Linked DNA regions of Homo sapiens: all the other regions are linked to region 3. Evidence: promoter capture Hi-C in 16 types of primary human blood cells and fetal thymus (Javierre and others, 2016). All regions are on one chromosome and are shown on one strand. Each heading gives the region's core, a stretch centred on a gene start or on the middle of the fragment in contact. The rest is flanking DNA. Distances are from core to core; before and after follow the strand shown.

Region 1 (2,700 bases), core at 51-2,550, 2.0 Mb after region 3:
AGTCAACAAACTATGACCTGTGGACCATATCTGGTGTGTTATCTTTTTTTTTTTTGAATAAAGTTTTATTAGAAAGAGTAATGCCCATTCATTTTTTAATGTATTGTCTGTGGCTACTTTGCTGTATAATAGCAGAGTTGAGTAGTAGTGACAGAGACCAAATGGCCTGCAAAATAAAAAAATATCTGCTAACTGGCCATAGTTTGCCTTAGACCATTGCGTGCCAATGACTGAGAAGTAAGATGGAGTAGTTGTATTCAGATAATCTCAGTTGGTGTTTTATTATCGTAACTTGGGTGCTGGGCACAGAGAGGAGTTTTCTGTATTGAAATATATATAATATATGAGATCTTAAGAAAGGTAGTTTCGTTTCATGATCCCCGGATGGTGTATCTATGTGTGTGTGAACCAGAAGTGGCTCCTTGAATGGGTCAGGCAGATAACACAGCTTGTGTTTGCTGGTTCGAATGTATCATTTTAAGTTTGGTGAACAAGTTAAATTGAAAGCATTTTGGCAAACCAACACCGGATGAGAACTTGGCATTCTCCAGAATTAAGAATATTCCACTAAAAAAACCCCCATACAACCTTGATTTCATAAATGAATGTATTTCTGGCAGCTATTTTGATTGGAATGTGGTAGTTAAATGAAATATTTGTTTTAATTTACTGAAGGAAAAGCATTTGCTGATACTGTCTAGATTATGCCAACTTTCAAAATATGAAATTAAAGAAACCAATTTGAAAACTTTTTTTCACGTGAATCTGTAAGGAAATGTTTTCTGTAAGGACACATAAGAGCGACTCTTTGAGTTCATCAGTAGTGGATAAATAGAAACATAACATTTCAGAATTCTGAACCTAATATCTAGTTTAATGTAAGTGTGTATATTTTTTGTGTGTCCAAAGCACTTCAGAATGACAGTTTTCAGTTTAGTAATTATCCGCTGACATATTCTTAATTTTTTTTTTAAAGAGGCCTATTGCATTCTATTACAAAGTAAAAATTGAAGCTGTTTAGTTGTGAAGAGTGTTTGAAGAACTGCTTCATTTAGAAGGTGTTCATTATCACTGTGAGGTTATGCTAGTCAGGATGACTACTGTGGGCATATTCCAAATCTGTTGTAATTAAAAAGTTTTATAAATGATAATTTTTTTTTTTAGTAGTAATGCTGTTGTGTTAATTCACTAAAAGACATAATGTACCTGGATTCAATAGCCTTAGTAGCACACAGGACGGCAGAATCTGAATGGGCAGTTTGTGTCCTGCACAGAGGTACACAGCCAAGGGAAAAGTGGGCACTGAAATCCAGGCCAAGCTGTTTCCCTGTTAGCGGACTGTCTTCACAGAGGAAGGAGCTTCCTTTATAACAATTTATTTCTGTTATTTAATATGCATTATGTCTTATTACTATGCTAGGCACTGATTAGCACTTTTTATTCCACTCTCCTAACTTATTTTACAGATGAAAAAGCGAAGGCACTGAGAGAGGTTATCTAGTTACTAAGAGTCAGAGCCAGGGAGTCCAAACCCACCTGTGTGGCTCCACAATTCCAGGCTCTTAACCTCCGATACCACGTGGCTTCCTTTTTGTAATTTATTTTGCTAGAGTCTAATTTGCACAAAGGTACTGCAGAAGCTAGTGCTGGCGCTGATAATACACTTGAGTGCTAAGTTAGAAAGGGATGGGGCGCACGTAGAACAAACTTCAGCTCATTTGCCTAAGTGCCCACTAGAACTTCCTTGATGAATCACATATCCAGATTTTGTTTGAACATTGTCATTGATTTGCGCGATGGTTTCCCTTTATATTGAATAGGAAAAAAATACCTTTCTATAACTTCTGCCTACTACTTAAAATTTTGTCACACATAGCTGAGGCTCATTTGGGCTTTATGTGTTTTTTATGCATTTTCTTCTTTTTTTTGTTATTATGTTTTGAAGTCTTTTTAGGCCCCTTTCTGTTTATGGTGTCTTCATTATCATTGTCCTTACTTTTCTGTTCATTTTTGGGAGACAGATTGAGTTTATCTTTTGTTTGTCATCATTAATCTTAAAATTAGATTAATAAACCACTTAATTTAGTCCGATGTAGTATTAACATATTTCTCCCTCTAGTTCTGAACACCTCTCACTTTGCAATTTAGTATTTGAAAGAAGCGACTCTCCTGCCTTAGGTTAATAATTAGACCTGACTAGTAAAATTCTCCATCCTGTCCCTTCCCTTCCCACCCCCACCCAGTGGTTCTCAGTCCCCATTGGAATCACACACATGCACACACACACCCACACACTGACACGGGGTGGGTGGGGAGGATTTTAAATGCAAGTGATGTAGATCCTACCCTAGACCAATTACATCTGAGTGAGGGGCTCACCACGTCATAGTTAGGTTCTAATCTGGGGCATTTCTGTAGGACAGAGCTAATCAAAGACAGTCTTCTTGGCAGAGCCATTCTCATTTCTATTGGAAATGTGTTCAACTGAATGATTTGTGTGTTGTAGCCTAATTAGCTATTCAGATTCTTAATACCTTGAATCAGATATTCAAACCTTAGGAAGAGTGAGAAATCTATTAAGATGTAGGAATGTCAGTTTTCTTTTCTAACTTAAGTGCCAGTGTACCCACCTGTGTGGTCTTAGGCAACAAAGCTTGATATCCCCCCTTCATATTATTTCTTAGATCTTCGTTGCTGTTT
Region 2 (2,700 bases), core at 140-2,639, 2.1 Mb after region 3:
GGGTCCAAATTTAACAATTTTGACTATTTAAATTGCAGTCATGAATAAAGTATACAGAAATCATGTACTTCAAACAAATTTATAAGCATTACATAAGTCAAGACACTTTCAAAACCTTGGCAGTAAATATGGCAATAAGATGGCTCAGTGTTTCATGCACTGTGCAACCACTTTCCAGGACCCTGAGATGAAAACAAAACAGTGATGTAGTCTTTTACTTTCTATCAGGAAACAGGAGCTCACTCTCTCCCTTAGCTTTATCCTTGACCATATTTTAACTGTTCAAGAGGAGTAGTAGAGTCTCTGAATGAATTTGAATCTGTACTTTCTCATTTATTAGTTGTGATTTTCCATTAGATTATAAAATAATAAAATTATATGTGTGTACACAGTATCTAGCATATGGTATAGGCCCTCTGTAAATGATGTCTTCTGTCTTGAAGTTTTCTTAAATCTCTTAAGCTGCTTGGCGTTTGGCTGTTTTTACTATGGATGATTTACTGTGAATTTATTCAGGGAGGGGTTATATAATTGAAAACAGGAATCTCCAACCTCACTGCTTAAGGATTTTACTGCTATGTCTCTCATTGTTTCTCCCCATCCTCCCTCATCCTTATTCTGTTTTCTGCCTTGGTGATCTGGAATCTACTCATATTCAGATAGTTGTGGGCTTCCTGATAGGGACAATTCAAAACGGTGCTTCTCCGCCCCCACCCCCCCACCCCCGCCCCGCCCCCCGATTGGTATCTCTGTGAGCCCAGATTAAGGTGAAAACTATGAAAACTATAAATGCATTTAATTATGATCTTGCTTATGGGCAAAATCAGGGGCTAAAATCAAGGTTTTAGAGGTAACATTTTTCCACTTGCCTTTTCCACTGTGGGTTAGATGTTGTGAGCATAATGAGTTAGGTGTTCCAAAGAGAGAAGGAAGGGGTTACAAGGAAAATCAACTTAGGTGTACTCTGACTATCAAATAACCAAATTTTCCTAGCCACATGCTAGGAAATTGTGAGCCCACAGTATTTTCTACTAGACTGTTTATAAGTACCACAAGGAGTATAAGAGTGGAAGCACAAAATCCAAAAAAGACATTACTAAACACTAAAAAACTAGGCTAGACAGGCTAGCCAACAGACATACTATATAGATTAAATCAGTTTAACCAAGACCCAAAATAAGCCTGTATTTATTTCCTTTGTTTAGTATAAATGTTTATTAATATTCTATATTACTTGTACAATTTAATTGAATTGTTTAAAATACTTCATAGAAATTACTACTTAATGATAAATGGTGATTAATATTTCAGTAAAGAAAATAACCACCCTTGGTTTATCAGCTTCTTAGAATTTTACCTTTGAATTTTGACTAGATATTAATAAAAAGCAAGGCCAACATAAAGAGATTTTTATTAAGTAAGTGCTTTGGTTTTAAGTATTTCAAGTTAAGAGTAAGTAATTGCTGATGGAGACCTATAAACCAGGTAATCATTTGCTAGCTGTTCATTTCTTAAATATTTCATATAGATGAGTTATTACTAAGTGGCAAAGAATTGGTATTTTTAAAGCACTTAATTCATACATAAAATGAGATTTAACCGTTATGATTTTTTAATATTTGAATTTATTTTTATTATTTTAGTTTTCCTAAGTAGTTCCAAAGAGCTCCAAAATACTGAATTTATCAGATGTTTGACAATTTATATGTAGAAATTTAAATACTTCAGATTTTACCTGAGTGCTAGATTGCTTTACAGACATTATTGAATTATAACTACGTAGTAGATAACAATTACATGAAGTAAATGAAGATCATTCAGAATGAATGAATTCCTATTTAAAGCATATTATGTGTACCACTTTTGAGAGATGCTGAATACTTGAACTGGGCTGGGATGAAAGAAAATTTGAAATAAAGTTCCTTAATTCTAGATGTAAAAAATATTAAAATATAATACAGAAATATTAAATGTCCCTTAATCTGTCTTGGCCTGATTTAAATGAAGCAATTTAATTATATGATTTCCAAAGACTTGTTTTACCTTTTACATTTGATGCTTTTTGTTAAGAAAAGTTGTGTACCATGACATTTTAGAAAATTTGAAGCTATATAATCAAGTATTTACTAGAAATTTTAAAGAGTACATTAAGAGAAAAAGAAAGTATGTAAAGGCTGACATGTTTACATGCACACACACGCGCGCGCACACACACACACACACACACACACACACGACCTTCGTCTGGGATTTTAAATGGGTAGGATGGGATTTGAAAAGATGATGGTGATCTTTCTTTCTGTGTCATTTAGCATGTTGCCACTAGGAAAATAAATTCTCATGCCTTTTCTTTTGTTTTTAGGATTTTCTCATTCAGCATTTACCTTTGGTATAGAAAGCCATATCAGTCAGTCCAATATAAATGGTGCCCTCGTCCCACCCGCTGCATTGATTTCTATCATCCAGAAAGGTCTACAGTATGTAGAAGCAGAAGTTAGTATTAATGAGGTAAGGAAGACTTATTTCAAATACTGATTTTTTTCATCTTAAATATGCCGTTAAGTCAGCTGTCTTGCTTGCTTATTCAGTATTCTGACTTTAGCTTCACAGGGTTAACAAAAGTGCAGGCAGTTCATCCCTAATGTGGTAGTCAGGTTGCACCGGCAAGGTGTTGGCGCCTAGTTGTAAGGACCATTATCT
Region 3 (2,700 bases), core at 176-2,675:
TTGCCCTCAGTGGTTCAAAAGTCGCAGTAGAAATAATCCCCTGAGATAACCTGGAATTTACCTACCCAAGTATTCTAAGGGGTTCTCCCCGGCCACACAAACTATGATTCAAAACATCGTTCCGAAAACCCAGGTCCTGCATGTGCACAAAGGCGCAGTGCTGGAATGAGGAAGCTTCACCAAGATGAAATCACAACTCTAATTCATTAAAGAATATGCAGACTGTTTTCTAGAAAGACCCTCTTGTTGCGCTCCCTTTACCCTACCCTTTATTTAACCATGTAAACAGTCTCAATTATTGACATAAAAAAATAGCTTTCGATTCCCAAGTCTGGTAACACGGTTGGCCACCATCACTATTCCTTTAGCATCCTAAAATAAACCCCTCGAGCCGAGGTCAAAAACACGCCGGCTGAACGTCTGGTGTTTACATAGCCCAATCCCGGGCCCTACCCTACCTTTCCGAGCCACTTAAGAGCCATGGAACAGGCATCACATAATACACTTAGTAAAGAGACAAGTCACATGAGTCAGTGTCTCAGGTCTATGAATGAAAGATCTAAGCGTTTGTCTCAGCTAAAAGGAAAAAACAACCTCGAAAGGAAGGGTGGGAGGGGAGCTGGCGGGGGTGAGGGGAGCGGTGTTCCTTCCATACCCCTGCCGGGCGATTTAAACCCAGTAAGAGGCAAACGCAGGGCCGCCAGGCTGGCGGGGCCGGAGTCCTCGGGCGTGACAGCCCCTCAAGAAAAGCTCGCGGTTTCGCGCCCGCGTCCCTTGAGCCGCAGTCCTCGCGGCAGCCCCTCCACCCGCGGGCTGGGTGGGCGTGCAGGGCGCGGGAGACAGAGCCACCGCGGCCGGGGCGGCGGCCCTGGGCGCACTTCCTCAACCTCCAGCCGCCCCGTCCCCAAAACTGGGAGTAGAAGCAAAGGAAGAGCGAGGCGGCAGCCAGAGAGAAAGGAGAGGGAGCGGCGAGCCCTCGCCTCTGCAGCTAGGAGAGGCCAGAGGCAGGCGAGGGAGAGGGTGCGGCGATCGCAGGCGAACTCCGCCGCGGGCCGACGCTGGGAGACGACCAGCCCGTAGCCTCCGCCCAACACGGCGGGCGCGCCCGGGAGTCTCCGGCACCCACCCGGTCCCCATTCCCACCGCACCCGCTACCGGCCAGTCCGCGCTCTACTCACGCTCGGGGCTCTTCCAGGCTCCGCGGCTCTAACCGCATCGGGTCCCAGCCCCGCGGGCGGCGGCGGCGGCGCCGAGGGAGAGGAGAGCGGGCGGCACGGCCCCCGCCTCCCGGCCCCTCTCCCCCGCCGCTCCGGAGCTGCCCGGCCGGGCCCGAGCCCTGCCTCGCCGGCGGCCCCAGCCCCAGTCCCAGCGGCCGCGGCAGCAGCAGCCCGACACCTCAGCGGCCGCAGCGGCGGCACCGGAACTGCCGCTTTCTACTTCTCGCTCCCTCTCCTCGCTAGCCCCCGCCACACGCCCCCGCCCCCGACTCCTTTCTCCGTCGCCCCTGTTTTTTTTTCCTTTTGTTTCCAGAATAAACTTTATTGGTCTCTTTTTCCGCTCACATCGTGTAAACAAACAACGAACTCTTCCCCACCCCCTCGGCCCCCCCCCTCCTCCGGCAGAAGAGGGTAAGAGCTGAGGAGGGGCAGAGCCTACAATCCCCCGGAAGCAGATGCGCAAAGAAGCGGAAGCGAAATTGAGGCGAGGAGGAGCAGGGAGTGGGCAAATAGGGTAACAATATGTGCTACTGCGCCTGCGTCTTGCTTTTCCGCCCGAAGTTTATGTACAGTTGGGGCTGCTCTTCTGACGTTTGTTTAATGATCCGTCTTCTGCAGTAGTGAGGGTGTTGTGTCATCCTAGGACAGCGTACGTGTAGTATATTTGTTTCTACGAGCAGCAGGCGAGCTGGGGTAGAGATATAGAAAGGAATATTGGGAGCAAGTGGGTTATTTCACTTTTACACCCATAGAGGAAACGAGATTAGTTCGGGGGTGAGAGGAGGTGCGGTGGCTAACCGCCGCTGTCAGTGGCTAACCAGCGTGGTTATGGATTCTATAATAGAAAGAATGCTTTTTACAAAGCGTTGCTGTGCGTTCTTCTGCCGACATGGTTTAAGTTGTATACCATCCCGAAGGCGGAATGCACTGTCACAGCCCTCTGCAGTCCTTTGACTCACTTCGTGGAGACCTTTTGCTATGCCCTCATTTTTTTTTTTAAATCGAATTCTGATTCGAAGCAGCTTGTAGGATTCAATTCTAACTATTCAGAAGACGTGGGGGATTTTTCGCGTAATGCCAACAGAGACTTCAGAAATGTCATATAGGCTATAGATTTGATTCAAGGTAGTGTCTTGGTGCTGCGTACCTTAGAAGTCTGTTTGCTTGAGAGTAAATCAATCTGTTGACTTTTGAGATTACTACTGATAAGGGTTCGGTACTGTGCGTTTTTCTCCCCCTACTGGTCTTTTGTTGTAATATTGGAAAAGCGTAGGAGCAGTGATTAGAAGTCTGAGATACAAGTACTCCAGCATCGGTTCCTCCTTGAATTTTTAAGTAATAGAGGGCTTGGGAAGTGACCCATCCTAGAGATGTTACAGTCCTACTTGTCCTCTAGAGCAAAACTCTGACCAATAACAGTCTTCTCGAACACCGCACGTCCGTCCATACCCCAATGGTAAATGAGATGGATCTGTTCCTCTTT

The links. Contacts are between HindIII fragments. The CHiCAGO score rates a contact against its expected background, and 5 or more counts as called.
Region 1: a contact is called between a fragment that was not itself captured here and the fragment with the promoter of PIK3CA in region 3, in 4 of 17 cell types (naive CD4 T cells, fetal thymus, naive B cells and 1 more). The highest score is 7.1, in naive CD4 T cells.
Region 2: a contact is called between a fragment that was not itself captured here and the fragment with the promoter of PIK3CA in region 3, in 1 of 17 cell types (fetal thymus). The highest score is 9.0, in fetal thymus.

Annotation. Positions count from the first base shown.
Region 1 is chr3:177,105,379-177,108,078 of GRCh38, reverse strand. The region is part of intron 1 of TBL1XR1 (TBL1X/Y related 1); the gene reads left to right. Among named protein-coding and RNA genes, the nearest start is that of TBL1XR1-AS1, 69 kb to the right of the region's middle. The HindIII fragment of the contact is 2,710 bases long and covers 1-2,655 here.
Region 2 is chr3:177,053,581-177,056,280 of GRCh38, reverse strand. It overlaps TBL1XR1 (TBL1X/Y related 1), which reads left to right. Exons shown (of 16, transcript NM_024665.7): 4 at 2,363-2,508. Among named protein-coding and RNA genes, the nearest start is that of TBL1XR1-AS1, 18 kb to the right of the region's middle. The HindIII fragment of the contact is 6,510 bases long and covers 1-2,700 here.
Region 3 is chr3:179,147,082-179,149,781 of GRCh38, reverse strand. PIK3CA (phosphatidylinositol-4,5-bisphosphate 3-kinase catalytic subunit alpha) reads right to left here and starts at 1,425. Exons shown (of 21, transcript NM_006218.4): 1 at 1,179-1,425. It overlaps PIK3CA-DT (PIK3CA divergent transcript), which reads left to right and starts at 1,809. Exons shown (of 3, transcript NR_125401.1): 1 at 1,809-1,866. RefSeq lists silencers at 801-850, 911-1,380 and enhancers at 562-1,061, 1,871-1,990, 2,601-2,700. The HindIII fragment of the contact is 3,906 bases long and covers 177-2,700 here.